6 separate regions of the Homo sapiens genome follow, and regions 1, 2, 3, 5 and 6 are each linked to region 4. Evidence: promoter capture Hi-C in 16 types of primary human blood cells and fetal thymus (Javierre and others, 2016). All regions are on one chromosome and are shown on one strand. The core of a region is centred on a gene start or on the middle of the fragment in contact, and the rest is flanking DNA. Distances in the headings are between cores, read along the strand shown. Region 1 overlaps PPM1K (protein phosphatase, Mg2+/Mn2+ dependent 1K). Region 2 overlaps PKD2 (polycystin 2, transient receptor potential cation channel). Region 3 overlaps PKD2 (polycystin 2, transient receptor potential cation channel). Region 4 holds the start of PIGY (phosphatidylinositol glycan anchor biosynthesis class Y). Region 5 overlaps FAM13A (family with sequence similarity 13 member A). Region 6 has its middle 51 kb from the start of PPM1K.

Region 1 (2,700 bases), core at 82-2,581, 260 kb before region 4:
TAAAAATACAAAAAAATTAGCCGGGCACGGTGGCGGACGCCTGTAATTCCAGCTACTCGGGAGGCTGAGGCAGGAGAATGGCGTGAACCCAGGAGGCGCAGCTTGCAGTGAGCCGAGATCGTGCCACTGCACTCCAGCCTGGGTGACAGAGAGAGACTCCTTCTCAAAAAAAAAAAAGAAAAAAAAATACAAAAATTAGCCAGGGGTGGTGGCACGCGCCTGTAGTCCCAGCTACTCAGGAGGCTGAGGCAGAAGAATCGTTTGAACCCGGGAGGCAGAGGTTGCAGGGAGCCGAGACCGCACCACTGTACTCCAGCCTGTGTGACAGAGTGAGACTCCATCTCAAAAAAAAAAAAAAAGAAATACAAAATCTGTAACAAACGAACAGCTGATGGAGAACAGGACAGCATTTACTTCTGAATCTATAAAGTACTTAAGAACTTATACTTGTGGAAAATCACAATGACAATGAATATTTCACCAAATAGATGGTGGCAAATAGTTTGGCAACACATATTAGAAAGGTGATTTCTATACTACACATAAATGAAAGACAAACCGAACCACAATTGATGTTTTACTACATTAATGTAATTTACACTATGCCTATACCCACATGGCAAATTCAGTTATAACTGAAAAACTAGAGCAGTCCCTTTTTTTTTACTATGATTTGCATATTTTCCAGTATCCTAATACATGCATACTTATCTTTTATAGATTATAATAATCTACATTTAAAATTCCATTTTAATATTGTGGCATGAAAAATACAAACACCAATACAGTATGTTTTATGCTTACTCAAAGTTAACTGGCTCAGAGTTTTAAAAGCTTTCCCGGATAAAGCAGAGTCAAGTCTACCCTATATCCCCATCCTATAAATTCCTCTTTGTCGAACCTGGCAATCTCAGTGAGCTATGATTGCACCACTGCACTTCAGCCTGGACAACAAAGTGAGACTCTGTAACTATAAAAAACAAAAACAGACAAACTTGGCTATCTACCTCAATCCATCAATCACCCTCATGCCTTTGAACTTGACAACATCACTCCTCATCTTAGTTTTTAAAGTAAAAGATAGGAATAGTAATGTAAAGCATTCAAAACAAAAATGAAACCTGCATATTTGTTTATTTATTTATCTGAGATGGAGTTTTTGCTCTGCTGTCCAGGCTGGAGTGCAATGGCGCGATCTCGACTCACTGCAACCTCCGCCTCCCAGGTTCAAGCAATTCTCCTTCCTCAGCCTCCCCAGTAGCTGGGATTACAGGCACCCACCACCACGCCTGGCTAATTTTTGCATTTTTTGGTCAAGATGAGGTTTCACCATGTTGGCCAGGCTGGTCTCTAACTCTTGACCTCAGGTGATCCACCTGCCTTGGCCTCCCAAAGTGCTAGGATTACAGGCTTGAGCCACCGCGCCTGGCTGAAACCTGCATCTTCAGAATGTCATTTTTGTGCGTTAGTTTTCCTTTGCCTGTTGGTTTGGAAATTCTCCATGTTCCTAAAGGTAGCTTCCACATTTCTGTTCCAAGAACTGATTAGAAAAAGCAAGATGGTTTCCCGCTTTAGTTGCCTCCCTTTGGTTCCTCACCTCTCAGACAACAAACAGAATGTTAACAGTCTTTCCTGTGATGTTTTTCCTTCTTTCACCTAACTTCCCTTGAAAAAAAAAATCAAAATATTTATTTAGCACTTTTTTCAAAGGGCAATTCCTGATTAATATAGGCAGAAAAACTCAAGATTTATCTTCTTCCATTTCCAAAAAGGTAAGAAGATGTAAATATTTATATTGGGCCCTCTCCCTCCTCATACATTTTTACCCAAAGCTTAAAGAAAAAAAAAAAAGTCAACTCAAAACACAGTTGAAGGTATATACTACATCAACTTTTTCTTTTGTTTCTGCCACAGAATTCCATGTCATTCTTAAGATTCAGTATTTTTCTCACATCCTATTACTTTATATACAAATTGCCATATAGCAATTTTTAACCTATTTCCTCATCTGCTGATAATCACTGGGTCTCCACTATAAGAAAATTGCCCCTAGTTTGTCAAGAGTCCTTAAAAATAACGTATCAATAATTTAAAACTGGTGAAAGAGCTATGCAAGATTGTTCCCTTTAATTTTATATTACTCTAAAATATACATATGTACACATACTCACACATATAACAAATTTACATAGTTTGCAGAAATAAACTACGGAAATAATTCCAAATACACATTTAGAAATTCACATTTTAACAGCAAACTTACATGCAGATAAAGAGAAGTATAGTTTTATACTTCCTAAGTTACACAGCAAGCTGAAATGGAGAATGTTTTAATGGTCATTTTAGATTTATTCTTTCTCCTAAGTCTTAGAAAATGAGCAAAAAGGAGACATAAAACTCAAGCTATGTCTATAGCAGTATCAGTCAATGTGGTATTATTTTTATTAACAAATTATTCAATTGCTTACTCTATACAAAAAGTGATATACACATACTATAATACTATATGCAAAACACAAAATAGCGTTAGAGATAACAAATGAGAACTTCATACAAAATACTTGATTCCATCAGTATTTAACTTTTGACCGGAAGACTCAGCCTGTGCATTCTTTTCTGATATTAAGGAATAGTCACATTTTTACAGTATTCTTAACTACAGAAAAATAGGAATAAATGGAGGGGAGGGCTGATGAGACA
Region 2 (2,700 bases), core at 83-2,582, 500 kb before region 4:
TTGCACAATTATTTAACTCCTCTGTTAGGCCTTCCTTATTTCCTGTTCTCTTTTTAAAATTTGACTAAGATATTGCTAATGGGCTTGGGAGCCTATAAAATGATCAGAATTGTTGCCTTATGTTTTGCATGTTTGGGGTAACATTGGAGCCAGATGTACTCTTAAATAAAAGGTAGGCCTACAAAACCAGTTTCTCAGTTGCATTCAAAATGTGATTAAAAAAAAAAAAAGGAGAATCTCCCTTATAGGTGAACTTTTTAATTTGTGCTTTATTTTCCCTTTTGCCATTCATGAGATTTCTTAAATAAAATGATATCTTTTCTTTTCTTCATTATTATTTTAAAGGTCTCTGGGGAACAAGACTCATGGAGGAAAGCAGCACTAACCGAGAGAAATACCTTAAAAGTGTTTTACGGGAACTGGTCACATACCTCCTTTTTCTCATAGTCTTGTGCATCTGTAAGTAGAATATTTCCTTGCACTAATGGGAAAGTTTTGAAAAGATTTGACCTATCCAAATCATAATTAAAAGGAAGTGTGTATGCACCAGAGGGGCAACTGGGAAGTTACCTTCTTACCTTTGTTTTTAATTCTAATATTTTTATTTGGGCATTTGTTTATTGACTATCTTCCTATGGTAGAATGCAAGCTTTATAAGAGAAGGGACGTGATTTGTTCTCTGCTGTACCCCCATTTCCCAAAACTGCAGATGGCAACAGAAGGCTCTGAAAAATATATAAGAAAGAATTTTTCTAATTGTGACTAAATTGTGACCAAATGCTAAGTGACTGTGGACTTGCGTTTAACACAGGACGGGAGAGGCAAAGAGTTCAATTCCAATTTAGAATTTGGTCAAGTTCTCTTCTGCACTCTGGTAAACATTAATTAAAAATCAGCATTATCTGACCAGCCAGTTCATCGTCAGTGGTGGTGATTTTCACTATGAGATACGCGTGGCAACTTGCCAGACACCAAGAAACCAAGTTAGAGGATTTTTGTATTAGATTCCTTAACAATGAATACAGTATCACCATTATTACAGTATCATCATTATTGTCATACTATTATTATATCAGTTAACATAAAGTCTGCATAAGAATTGTTTCCAGAAAAATGACTTTCCAAATTTAACTTTCAGGAAATACAAATAATGCTACTAATATTGCTTTTATTGGCGTATACATGTAATATCCCCTTCTTTTGGATTTGGATATGTTGTGTCATTGCCTCATTTTAATTCATTATTTCTTCTCAATCTTTAATAATTGCTGGACTTTTACTCCACAAGAAACTTGCTATAGGCCCATCTCTTTCGTCTTCTTTCCTTCTTTCAGTTCGTCTTCCCATCCTCTGGTAGGGGGAGGGGAGGGATGCCTGAGCGAGAGACTAGCTGTAGGAACCATTTGTCTCAAAGTCCAGAAAGCCACAGGTGATGGATTTGTCCTCTGAATCAAAGGGCGTTCGATGATGGATTTCTGTCATGTCTCATCTAAAGTCTTCACGAGAACAGATGAGGAAGCAGTTTTATGACCCCAGAGCCTCCTACCAAACTCCTCTGAGAAAAGGTTTCCTTTTTTTTTTTTTTTTTTAAATTAGAGACAGAGTCTTGATCTGTTTCACAGGCCGGAGTGCAGTGGCACAATCATAGCTCACTGCAGCCTCGAGCTCCTAGGCTTCAGTGATCCTCCCACCTCAGTCACCCACGTAGCTGGGACTACAGCTGCACACCACCATGCCCAGCTAACTTTTAAAACATTTTTGTAGAGGTGGGGTCTCACTTTGCTGCCTATACTGGTCTCCAGCTCCTAGCTTCAAGTGATCCTCCTGCCTTGGAAGTTCTGGGATTATAGGCATGAGCCACTGCACCCAGCCTGGATGTGATATTTTTATGTTTTAAATTGTTAGAGTTTAGAAACTTGAGATTGAGTTTGCTGCCTGCATTAAAATGATGCTTAAACATTAAACTGCAGTGGCCTTAAATATTAACAAGTTGATTAGAATTACTAAGTTCTTTTCAAGCTTTACATATACAGACAAATTTCTTATGCAAAATAGAAGGTAACCCCTGTACGTAAGTCTAGAATTTCAGCAGTCCCCAAAACTGACTGAGCATTAGAATCACTCTGATTTTAAAATACATATGTGGTTTTCCGAGATCTACTAACAGAGCCTCCATAATGTAGCCTAGAGAAACGAGTTTTCAGATGTAGTGATAAATTTGGAAGGTAAGTCAGAGAAGTAAGCTGAAGACAGAGTTTTAGGAAATATGCCTAAAGTCACATAATGAATTGGTTTTCTTGTTTATTTGAGAATATTGTCGCTTTTTGTTCTTTTTCATGCAAATCACATTTTATTTCTTATGTGAGTAGCTATATATTTAAAAATTTTGTTTTTGGAATATTGTAGAATCTCTACTTAAGAAAGTATCTTAGCAGTCATATGGTCTGACCTCACTGAATGCTAAATTCTCTTTAAAACATCCGTCTCAGATGGTTACTCATACTGCCTCTGATTGAACAAGAGTCCCAGGTTAAGGGACTTACTTCTTTGAAATCGTTCATTTCATTTTTCTACAGCTATGTTAGAAAGTTCGTCCTTAGCAGTGAAGCCAGAGTCTATCTCTTATAACTTCTACCCAGTTGCACCCTCCAAGCCTACCTATACCAAGTATCTTTTTTCCACGTTGCTTTTCCAATTCAG
Region 3 (2,700 bases), core at 128-2,627, 460 kb before region 4:
GTGGAGCAACAATCTTAGCAGTGCTAGGACTGAAATCCAAGTTTGCTTGACTCCAAAGTCTATCTCTCTTCCAGAAACTTTTTCTTTACTATCTGCCTAGTAGGCCTGCTGTATTCCTATTTGCAACAGCCTTTTAAACTCTTTAAAAATGTGTCCTGTAAATTTCATATATGATTATACAAAAAAACTTGGAATAAGCATACAATTCTACTTATCTGTGTTAACTGTTGAAATTTGAAGAGCTTTTTGGAATTCTATACCCTTCAGTAGTGTATGTAAAAGTTTCTAAATATAGAGAACATAGATAAGCAAAAATAATATTAAATAAAATAATCGCACCATTAGTAGGTAAATATACTAATATTTTGTTGTATTTTATTCTTGTATGTTTTCACAAAGTATATCATAAAATTTTTCCTGTGGCATGACTTAACGGAGAAAATAATCTTCCCAAAACATGTGGCAGCAAAACTGTTAATTTATTACATCAGGCTGGGCACAGTGGCTCACGCTTGCAATCCCAGCACTTTGGGAAGCCGAGGCGGGCAGATCACTTGAGGCCAGGAGTTCGAGACCAGCCTGGCCAACGTGGTGAAACACTGTCTCTACTAAAAATACAACAGTTAGCCAGGTGTAGTGGCACATGCCTGTAATCCCAGCTACTCAGGAGGCTGAGACTCAAGAATTGCTTGAACCCAGGAGGCAGAGGTTGCAGTAAGCTGAGGTCGCGCCCCTGCACTCCAGCCTGGGCAACACAGTGAGACTCTGTCTCAAAAAAAAAAATTTTTTTTTAAATAAATAAATAATAAATTTATGTCTTCATAAAGCACTCAGATTAGGAAAAAAAGGATAAACAAAAAGGCATGTGTCATTTTTTTGATTGATAATTCCAAATTATGTTTCTTCCTTTAATTTTTGCCCTCCTTTCATTTACAAACAGAATATGTTTTTGGCTATCATCAATGATACTTACTCTGAAGTGAAATCTGACTTGGCACAGCAGAAAGCTGAAATGGAACTCTCAGATCTTATCAGAAAGGTAGGAAAAACCTTAATTCTCAGAATTCTTCTGTTTCTGACATAAAATGAGCATTGTTTCACCCAGATTTTCAAATCAACATTGATCCATTGAAATTGTTTGAAATAAAGAATACATTGCTATATTTCAGGAATAATTTAAATGTTCCCTATCTTGGAGTCTTGATGGATATACTGCTATCTTGAATTTTAATTCTGGGAATCCTTTTATGCCCTGGAATTAAATTCTCAACAATCTTTTGACACTTTAAGAGCTGAGCTGAAGGTTCATCACCTTCATTATTTTGACATCTCCTGTAGCTGGCTCTCACTTCAGGATCCTGAGTTGAGAATAAACTAGAAGGGAAGATTATATAAAGGGATTTCCACCTCTTCTGTCTCAATTACCATTTTAAAAAAATAAAAAGTTTTAGAGGAAAACACTTAGTAGTTCACCCTTTACCCTTGACCTTCCACGGCAGTTTTAAAATAAGCAAAGGAAAAGATTCATGAATTCAGGCCATAGCCTGGGGCCTGAGAACTTTTACTTATGCACCTTCTCAGGAAGGGTTTCATTGTTAAATAGAAGGGCAGGACAGGAAAGTTGGGCCTCTTTGTTCTTCTCAATGTAACTTCTTTATTTGGTTTAAAGTATAAAATGTATACAACAACAAATAACCACATTTAAAATACACAGTTTGTTTCCCAACATCATTTTGCTAAGTCATAGTGGCTCCTTAACTGTAATTTTTTTTTTTATTAGTCCAAGCCTTAGGATTATGTTATCTGTGATATATGTTATAATAGAAAACTTAAGCCTCTTAAAACAAAGTCCTTGGGATGGGACCTAAGATTCACATTATCTTGATTCCGCATAACAGTTGCTTACATTTTAGCAAATCTCCAGTGTGTATGCAAGCACTCCTCACTTGGCACAATTCTGATACACACAAACTTTGGTTACCCCAGTTTTGTTATGTAACACCACCTTCAACAACACAGTTCAAATTTCAGTTATCATAGTATATTAACTCTGAGTAACAGCACAAAGTACAAACTCCACTGCTAGCTCTTCAGTGTATAGATCAGTTACCTGAGTAACAGATGTGCAGGCTGAGCAGGCTCACTGGTCAGTCATGACACTATTTTCAGTCTGTTACTAATTGGTCACTGAGCATCTGCTATCCAATTCACAAACAAAGAAAGCATGTAGTGTTGCTTCCTTGTGTTCCAGTAATAAGCCCATGTGACATTTTACAAAAATGGATAATTGAAAAAGAGAATGGGTGCAGTGGCTCACGCATGTTGGGAGGCCAAGGCGGATGGATCACCTGAGGTCAGGAGTTCGAAACCAGCCTGGCCAACATGGTGAAACCCCATCTCTACTAAAAATACAAAATTAGCTGAGTGTGGCGACAGATGCCTGTAATCCCAGCTACTGGGGAGGCTGAGGCAGGAGAATCGCTTGCACCTAGGAGGCGGAGGTTGCAGTGAGCCGAGATCGTGCCATTGCACTCCAGCCTGGGTAACAAGAGCGAAACTCCGTCTCAAAAAAAAAAAAGAAAAGAAAAGAAAAGAAAAAGAGAATGGGCTAGCAAAGAAATGAAAAATGGTAACACTGGAAGTGAAAATCAAAACAGAGTAATGGATTTATAGAAGAAATAGCTGAGTGAAGAAGAAATA
Region 4 (2,700 bases), core at 73-2,572:
TCCATTAGAAGGAAATCACTGGAAAAGGTGAGAGGGCAGAAATGAAGAAACTTTCGAAAGCACTAAGTCTGCAGTGAGCTAGTTATAAACGTAAATCAAATGATAATTTCAAGGTTCGAGAAAATTGAATAATATGTTTATTACGGGAAAAAGAAATACGAAAAATTGCTAGCAATCTACCATTCAAAGATAACCACTGATAACATTTTGGTGTTTATGCGATTTGTAATACTAGCGTTAGTGTTGTCAATATTCAATTTTGGTAGCTTGGAAACTGTAGAGCTGTCTTCCCAAAAACTAGTTAAAGAGGCTTCTACGAAACCTGCTAGGCCACAACTAAGAGCCACTGGGCAGCAAACACAGCTGAATTGCTTAAGATTGTCAGGCACCAGTTGTACAAGACACTTTCACAAGAATCTGGAGGGTACAACAATACTTTTCATTATCTTGGCTTAAAAACCGGAAGGCTTCGGACTTGTCCTGAATCGCAGTGGTTCATAAACCTGGTGGTACATTAGAAATCATTTAGGGACCGTTTAAGAACACAGATAAGCTGGGCGTGGGGGCGGCGCCTGTCTCTCGACTCCTGAGGAGGCTGAGGCGGGAGTTCTAGGCCAGTCTGGGCAACGTAGGGGGCACCCTGTCTCTTAAAAGGAAAAAAAAAAAGGAAAAGAAAATACAAATGTTCAGGTCCCATCCCGCGAGCATTCCAAGTCTGCCCGTCTTGGGGGCTGTCGGGGAATCGGCATTTTTAAAACGGTCCCCGGGTGATTGCAATGCGCAGCCGGTCGCGAACCCTAAAACGCTTCGAGCCATTCCCGCAGGCTGGCGTTGCGTTCTGGGAGATGTGGGACGCAGCTCCCCTGGCCTCCGGTCTCCCCCGTCCTGCCCGCTGTGCGCCCGGCGAGGACAGAGTCCAGAATGTGGCAGCGGAGAGTACCTGACCGACCTACAAGGCCCCAGTGGCTGCAAGAGGCCGCGGTCCACCGCTCCCTTTCCGCCCACCGGGAGGCTGCAAAGGAAGGGCCAAGGCCAGCGAGTTACCTGAGCGGCTTCTTGGAGAGCGGGCACACCAGGAACTCCAGCAGCGCCGGATCGAAGTCGCGGGGCGGCTCCTCAGTCTTCTTGCCCCGGTCGGCCAAAGGCCGCGACCCCGACGCGTGCAGGCACCTACGGGCGACCGCGGACGGCGGCGCGCGCGTTCCCCGCAGCGCTGAGGCGAGCCTGCAGCGTGCTCCACTCAGCATGGTCTGGCAGCCGGAGACCAGGCCTCACCGCAGCCTCGCCACCCGTGGCCGAGCTCCCGGCTTCCCGTTCGTCCAGGCCAGCCGGGCAGGCCCCGCCCCCTGGTCCTCCAGGAAACGCTGCCGAGGAGTAGGCGGGGCGGGCGCTTTGGTTCCGAGGGTGCTTCTGCTCCGACTGCTTTTCCCACGGGCGTCATCTATAGTCCGGAGGACAGCCCCAGGGCAGAGGCCTCTGGTGAGTGCCCCGCCGCCTTACCAGACTACAAACTAAACCAGTGTTTAAGTCAAGGTGTCTGGGTTTTCACCGGGGCCTGTCCAAGGATGCTAGGAAGCCAGTGGCCAGGCCTCAGAGTTGTAGGGAGTTAGGCTTGGACCTACGTGGTTACCTCCAAGTGAAGTTTCAAACACACTGTTATGTATTGTACCGAATGTATTGTCATGGATGTATTGAAAGCGCTCATTTGTTTCATGTACATCTTTACTATACCATTAGTTTCTGTAACCTTGTTTGGCTTTTTTCTCTCTCATTAAAAAAAGTGAGAACCTGGAAGGAAGGGCCTAGGCCTCTGACCCTCCAAAATATATAAATTCTTCCTGCCTGAGACCCAGTCATTGTGAAGTATTTGCGTAATAAAGCACAGCTAATTTACTTCTATAAATGAGCTTGGAGGCCGCAAGGGGCCTAAATAGCTGTGTAACAGGCAGATGTGATCTGCCTGTTAAAGATCCATTCAATGAGTGGGTGATCCATTCAGTGAATTTGTATCCCAGGTTTGCTTCCCACTCTCCAAGAAAGTGACCATGTTAGATCTCTTTCTTACAGTGTAGTAGATGGGAACTTGGGCTCTGGGGCCTGACAGCTTGGTTCCCTGTCCACAATTAGTAGCTGGATGACTTTGGCAAATGACTTAACTGCTCATTTTCCTTATCTGTATAAGACTAATAATTGTACCTACCTTGTAGGTAGGGCATAAATGTGATTGTGCATTCGAAGAACATTTAGAAAAGTGCCTGGCACAAATTAATGCTCCATTAATGTTGTCTATTTTTATTTTTAGTTCATCTAGTTTTTCCATGTCCGAAGACTCAAAGATTCTCATTAGTCATCCATTTTTTCCCTCCGTTCTGCTGAATATCAACCTGAACTTTTTTTTTGCATCACTGGGCATTATCATTTCACACTTTGAGTTCCTGGAGCTGGAAGTACAGAATCCAAAAATATGTTTATATTTTCAAATTTCTCTTCCACTCCAATGTAAAAATAAACTGACAAATGTTTATATGTTCATCCTAATTTTTTGTTTGTTTTTTGGGCCATCCTGTTTTTTTTAAAAAAAACAGTTTATTTTTTGATGTTCTTTGTTCACTAATGCTCAGAAGATTTTCTAAGGTTAATGTAGTTTATAGGATACCAAAAAGGAAACACTTCTACTGGATAGATATTTAAGAGATAATG
Region 5 (2,700 bases), core at 137-2,636, 480 kb after region 4:
AATTTGCAATGCATTAAGTCACTAAGTTCATGGTAATCTGTTATGGTAGCAATAGGAATCTAGTAGTTCCCCATTTGGAGATGACTAGACTGAAATAGAGAGATTGATTAGCCTGTCCACATTCACCCAGGTACCAAATAGCTGAGCTACAATTTAAATCCAAGTGCCCAGGACCTCATAACATACAATTTGATCAGCATACTCTTACAAAGTTAGCTATTATTGTTATCATTATTACAGAGCAGCTAACACCATGTCTCATGTATGTAAATATTTAAGAAATGTTTCCTGAATTAATCAATCAATAAACAAATCTGTTGTGTAGTGGAGAGGTGGGAATCTTAATTAATTTGTGAGAAACTATAGCTTCGTAAATTCTCAGGGCTTGTGGAGAAATAAAATTTTAATAGAAACCTATAAGGCTGCATGGGCACAAAATATAAACTACATAAGAATAAACAAAACATGAATTATATTTCTTTCTAAATATGTATTTACAGAAGAATGAGAAAAATAATTATGAAATGCCAGCTGTACAGAATCAGACTGGGTTTTACCTCCGCATTTCATTCCCCAAGACTGGAATCACTTCTTTGGAGTGATGAGAAGCTTATATAGGCAACAGAATTTCATTTTCCTATGCAAAAGGAGGGATTATGTTTCTTACAAATCTCTTACAACCTCATGACCATGATATGGTTCTCAGAGGCCTCACGTAAATTTCTCAAAGGGCAGACTGATAAAGTGACTAATAAAAATTAATAAATTACCCTCTATTCTTAGAGGTTATTAGTGAAACTACGAATCTTATCATTCTGATTAGATTCTGCAAAATGCAGAGGTATGTTTATTGCCAAATTAGTCAATATTTACAGTGATCCTCCTGTTCCCAGAGAGAACCTGTATGTCCAAGAGCAAAGGCCTGCAGGAAGAACAAAGAATTAGGTGATATTTTACACTTTAGTCCTATAACCAAAACAAACTCCTGATAATGCCTAAATAGTATCTCAGCATATTTATTTTGTGAGTATTTATTGGGTACTGAATGCTTGTCAGTCGGGACAGGTGGTGTACATAAAAATATAAAATAGTCTAAATTATAAAGCTGGAACCTCATATCTACAATAAAGGTTAGACACAAGCATTTAGCAGCTGAAGAACTTATTTGTATGAGAATTTATGTACCGAGGAGACTGGAAAAAACAAACAGCATATAGGACAGAGAGCCTCACACAATGTAAAATGCTAATCTGAAACAATATTGGCAGTATCTCAGCTAATAAAACTAGGCTTTCTCCATCAATCTAGCACTACATTAAATGGGCCAAGTACAGTAAATATATAGTTTCAGATGAAATCATACTACCACCAGTTGGTTTTTTTCTAGGCACTACTGGTTAAATGCTCAGCTATAAGTGGCCTGTAAGTGGATTTGGTGCCATATGAGTTAAACCAAGCCCAGAGTTACTTAAGCCTATTTGTATGTCCTCTTACCCCTCCTTTCTCCCCTAAGGGCCTCAAATTGTTTATGGACTCATTGTAAAAGGTTGATTATTTCCATGGGTTCAGTAAAGCAGGTGTTCAAAACACGGCTTGACAGAGTTAGGGCAGAGCTCTAAGTGGCTAGCAAGCTAATCATCTGGCTATCCCTTCAACTGATATTCTTTAACCAAATTTTTAATATTTTTTATGTAGATTGATTTTCTGTTAATACAAGTTGTATACTTTTTAAATAACTCACTTGTTGACTATGTCTTTTCTTCTTCCAACATAAAAGCATTACTAAAAAAACAAAGAACTTACTGAGGATTTCACCCAGCTCACAATTAATTCCATAATATCCCCAATGGGCCTCTTCTTGGCCTTGGAGCTGCTGGGTATCCTGCTTTTCCTCTTCAAGCCTATAATCTTTCTAAAACTATGTTAGAAAATAGTTACTCAAAATAAAGTTACAATATAACATAGCAATTACAGGTAGATACTCAAGAGAAATGAAAGCATATATCCACACAAAAACTTGTACATAAATGTTCATAACAGCCAAAAAATGGAAATAACCCAAATTTCCATCAACATGAATGGATAAGTAAAATATCGTATATTCATACTATAGAATATTAACCAGCCATAGGAATGCAGTACTGATATATGTGACACCACAGATAAAGCTTGAAACATTATGCTAGATCAAAGAAGCCAGTCACAAAGTACCACATACTGTGTGATTCCATTTATGAAATGTCCATAGAAGCAAATGTTTATAGAAAGAAAGTAGACTGGTCTTTGCCTAAGGATGTGGGTGGTGGGAGGAGGGAGGAATGGGGAGTGACTGCTAATGGGCATACGGTTTCTTTCTGGGGTCATAAAAATGTTTGAAAGTTAGATAATGGTGATGGTTGCACTTTGTGAATAGATCAAAAACCACTGAATTGTACACTTTAAGAAGGTCAATTTATGGTGGGTAATTTATATACCAATAAAGCTGTTATAAAGAAATTCTGTTGACTTCAAAATCAAGCATGGGAAAAAATTAAGCATGGGAAAAGAAAGTCAGAGGAGACCTTTCAGATAAAGATGACAGATCATTTCAGTTAAAGATGAGTGTACCTACTTCTCCTCCTAATATCCCACTAAAATGACAATTTTTTTAAAAGAATAAGTCCTCAAGGATAAAGAGAATAGCCTAAAACATGACAGTAG
Region 6 (2,700 bases), core at 48-2,547, 290 kb before region 4:
ATTGGCCAGGGTGGTCTCGAACTCCTGGCCTCCAGCAATCCTCCCACCTCAGCCTCCCAAAGTGTTGGGATCACAGGCATGAACCACCAAACCTGGCTTTTTTTTTTTTTTTTCTTAGGCAAGATCTCACTTTGTCACCCAGGCTGGAGTTAAATAGGCATTTCATATTCTGAAAACATGATAGATGTCAAAAGAAAAAATATGACATTTACTAAGTGCTTCTAATTCCACTGTTTACTGGCCTTGAAAAGCTTCTTAAGCCAAGCCTTCCCCAACAATAAAATAGTGATAACAATAATACCTTCCTTACAGAGTTGTCATGATAAATTTCATGAGATTCACAAAATACCGATTACTGAATTTGTCTTGCTGTTAAGTTCTGTTTATATTTAAGTCACTATCCTGATTATTCACTGTGTTGTGCAGTACCTAGGACAAATTAGGCATTTTGTAAATATTTATTGAAATGAAATGAACGTTTAAAAAATCTTGAAGTTGTTAAGAAATTCCATTTATCTATTTTTATAAATTTATTTTAATATGGTAAAATATGTATAACATAAAATTAGCCATTTGAAACATTTTAAGAGTTCAAGTCAGTAGCATTAATTACATTCACAATGTTGTGTCACCGTCACTGTTTCTAAGACTTTTTTGTCACCCCAAACAGATACTCTGTAATCATTAAGCAATAACTCCGTCAGGGATTTTTTTTTTCTGTTTAATTTTAAATTTTTATTTCTTGTAGGTACATAGTAGGTGTATATATTTATGGGGTACATGAGATATTTTCATACAGGCACACAATGTGTGGTAATCTCATCAGGGTAAATGGGGTATCCACCACCTCAAACATTTATCCTTTGTATTATAAGCAATCCAATTATACTTTTTTCATTTTATTTATTTATTTATTTATTTTTTTTGAGATGGGGTCTCACTCTAATGCCCAGGCTGGAGTGCAGCAGTATGATCTCAGCTCACTGCAACCTCCACCTCCAGGGTTCAAGCAATCCTCCTGCCTCAGCCTCCCAAGTAGCTGGGATTACAGGTGTGTGCCACCACATGTGACTAATGTGTTTTTGTTATTTTTAAGTGGACAATTAAATTATTTTTGACTACAGTCACATTGTCGTGCTAGCAAATACTAGGTCTTAATTATTTTTTCTAATTATTTTTTGTACCCATGAACCATCCCACTTCCCCCCACCTCCCCAATACTTTTCCCAGCCTCTGGTAACCATTCTTCCACTCTCTATCTCTATGAGTTCAATTGTTTTAATTTTTAGCTCCCACAAATAAGTAAGAACATGTTACGTTTGTGTCTCTGTGCTTGGCTTGTTTCACTTAACATAATTACCTTCAGTTCCATCTGTATTGTTGCAAATGATAGGATCTCATTCTTCTTTTTTTTGAGACAGTCTCGCTCTGTCACCCAGGCTGGAGTGCAGTGGTGCAAGCTCAGCTCACTGCAAGCTCCACCTTCCGAGTTCATGCCATTCTCCTGCCTCAGCCTCCCAAGTAGCTGGGACTACAGGCACCCGCCACCATGTGGGTATTTTTAGTAGAGACGGGGTTTCACTGCGTTAGCCAGGATGGTCTCAATCTCCTGAATTCGTGATCTGCCCACATCGGCCCCCAAAGTGCTGGGATTACAGGCATGAGCCACTGCACCTGGCCAGATCCCATTCTTTTTCATGGCTAAATAGCACTCCACTGTGTATATGTACCACATTTTCTTTATCCATTTGTCTGTTGATGGATACTTGGGTTGCTTCCAAATATTGGCTATTGTGAATACAGCTGCAACAAACATAGCAATGCAGATATCTCTTCAATATACGGATTTCTTTTCTTTTAGATTTATACCTAGGAGTGGGATTGCTGGATCATATGGTATCTCTACTTTTAGTTTTTTGAAAAACCTCCAAACTGTTCTCCATAGTGGATGTACTAATTTATGTTCCCACCAACAGTGTATGAGGGCTTTCTTTTCTCTATCCTCACCAGCATTTATTATTGACTGTCTTTTAGATAAAAGCCAGTTTAACTGGGGTGAGATGATATCTCATTGTAGTTTTGATTTGCATTTCTCTGATGATCAGTGATATTGAGAGCCTTTTCATATACCTGTTTGCCATTTGTACATCTTCTTTTGAGAAATGTCTATTCAAATCTTTCACCCATTTTATACTTAGGCTATTAGATATTTTTCCTATAGAGTTGTTTGAGCTCCTTGTATATTCTGGTTATTTATTCCATGTCAAATGGAGAGTTTACAGATATTTTCTCCCATTCTGTGGGTCGTCTCTTCACTTTGTGGATTGTTTCCTTTGCTGTACAGAAGCTTTTAAATTTGATATGGTCCCATCTGTCCATTTTTGCTTTGGTTGCCTGTGCTTCTGGGGTATTATTCAAGAAATCTTTGCCCAGTCCAATGTCCTGGAGAGTTTCCTCAAAGTTTTCTTTAGATAGATTCATAGTTTGAGGTCTTTAATCCATTTTGATTTGATTTTTGTATATGGTAAGAGATAGGGGTCTAGTTTCATTCTTCTGCATACAGATATCCAGTTTTCCCCACACCATTTATTGAAGAGACTGTCCATTACCCTCTGTATCTTCTTGGCACCTTTATCAAAAATGAGTGCACCATAGGTGTATGGATTTGTTTCTGGGTTCTCTATTCTGTTCCACTGGTCT

The links. Contacts are between HindIII fragments. The CHiCAGO score rates a contact against its expected background, and 5 or more counts as called.
Region 1: a contact is called between a fragment that was not itself captured here and the fragment with the promoter of PIGY in region 4, in 8 of 17 cell types (naive CD4 T cells, total CD8 T cells, non-activated CD4 T cells and 5 more). The highest score is 7.8, in naive CD4 T cells.
Region 2: a fragment that was not itself captured here is called in contact with the fragment with the promoter of PIGY in region 4 in 8 of 17 cell types (monocytes, naive CD8 T cells, megakaryocytes and 5 more); the score reaches 8.5 in monocytes.
Region 3: a fragment that was not itself captured here is called in contact with the fragment with the promoter of PIGY in region 4 in 2 of 17 cell types (megakaryocytes and monocytes); the score reaches 5.6 in megakaryocytes.
Region 5: a contact is called between a fragment that was not itself captured here and the fragment with the promoter of PIGY in region 4, in 2 of 17 cell types (naive B cells and total B cells). The highest score is 5.8, in naive B cells.
Region 6: a fragment that was not itself captured here is called in contact with the fragment with the promoter of PIGY in region 4 in 14 of 17 cell types (naive CD8 T cells, activated CD4 T cells, total CD4 T cells and 11 more); the score reaches 13.5 in naive CD8 T cells.

The regions. Positions count from the first base shown.
Region 1 is chr4:88,258,922-88,261,621 of GRCh38, forward strand. It overlaps PPM1K (protein phosphatase, Mg2+/Mn2+ dependent 1K), which reads right to left. Exons shown (of 7, transcript NM_152542.5): 7 at 1-2,700. Among named protein-coding and RNA genes, the nearest start is that of PPM1K, 24 kb to the right of the region's middle. The HindIII fragment of the contact is 998 bases long and covers 833-1,830 here.
Region 2 is chr4:88,019,113-88,021,812 of GRCh38, forward strand. PKD2 (polycystin 2, transient receptor potential cation channel) reads left to right here. Exons shown (of 15, transcript NM_000297.4): 2 at 346-459. Among named protein-coding and RNA genes, the nearest start is that of PKD2, 13 kb to the left of the region's middle. The HindIII fragment of the contact is 1,370 bases long and covers 648-2,017 here.
Region 3 is chr4:88,060,966-88,063,665 of GRCh38, forward strand. It overlaps PKD2 (polycystin 2, transient receptor potential cation channel), which reads left to right. Exons shown (of 15, transcript NM_000297.4): 10 at 941-1,039. Among named protein-coding and RNA genes, the nearest start is that of PKD2, 55 kb to the left of the region's middle. The HindIII fragment of the contact is 6,084 bases long and covers 1-2,700 here.
Region 4 is chr4:88,522,454-88,525,153 of GRCh38, forward strand. It overlaps PIGY (phosphatidylinositol glycan anchor biosynthesis class Y), which reads right to left and starts at 1,323. Exons shown (of 2, transcript NM_001042616.3): 1 at 1,045-1,323. PYURF (PIGY upstream open reading frame) reads right to left here and starts at 1,323. Exons shown (of 2, transcript NM_032906.5): 1 at 1,045-1,323. The coding sequence starts at 1,247. PIGY-DT (PIGY divergent transcript) reads left to right here and starts at 1,357. Exons shown (of 2, transcript NR_134663.1): 1 at 1,357-1,479; 2 at 2,312-2,538. It also overlaps a transcript of HERC3 not described here. RefSeq lists an enhancer at 621-680. The HindIII fragment of the contact is 19,176 bases long and covers 1-2,700 here.
Region 5 is chr4:88,998,217-89,000,916 of GRCh38, forward strand. The region is part of intron 3 of FAM13A (family with sequence similarity 13 member A); the gene reads right to left. Among named protein-coding and RNA genes, the nearest start is that of FAM13A, 58 kb to the right of the region's middle. The HindIII fragment of the contact is 1,559 bases long and covers 608-2,166 here.
Region 6 is chr4:88,231,956-88,234,655 of GRCh38, forward strand. No RefSeq gene overlaps it. Among named protein-coding and RNA genes, the nearest start is that of PPM1K, 51 kb to the right of the region's middle. The HindIII fragment of the contact is 2,096 bases long and covers 250-2,345 here.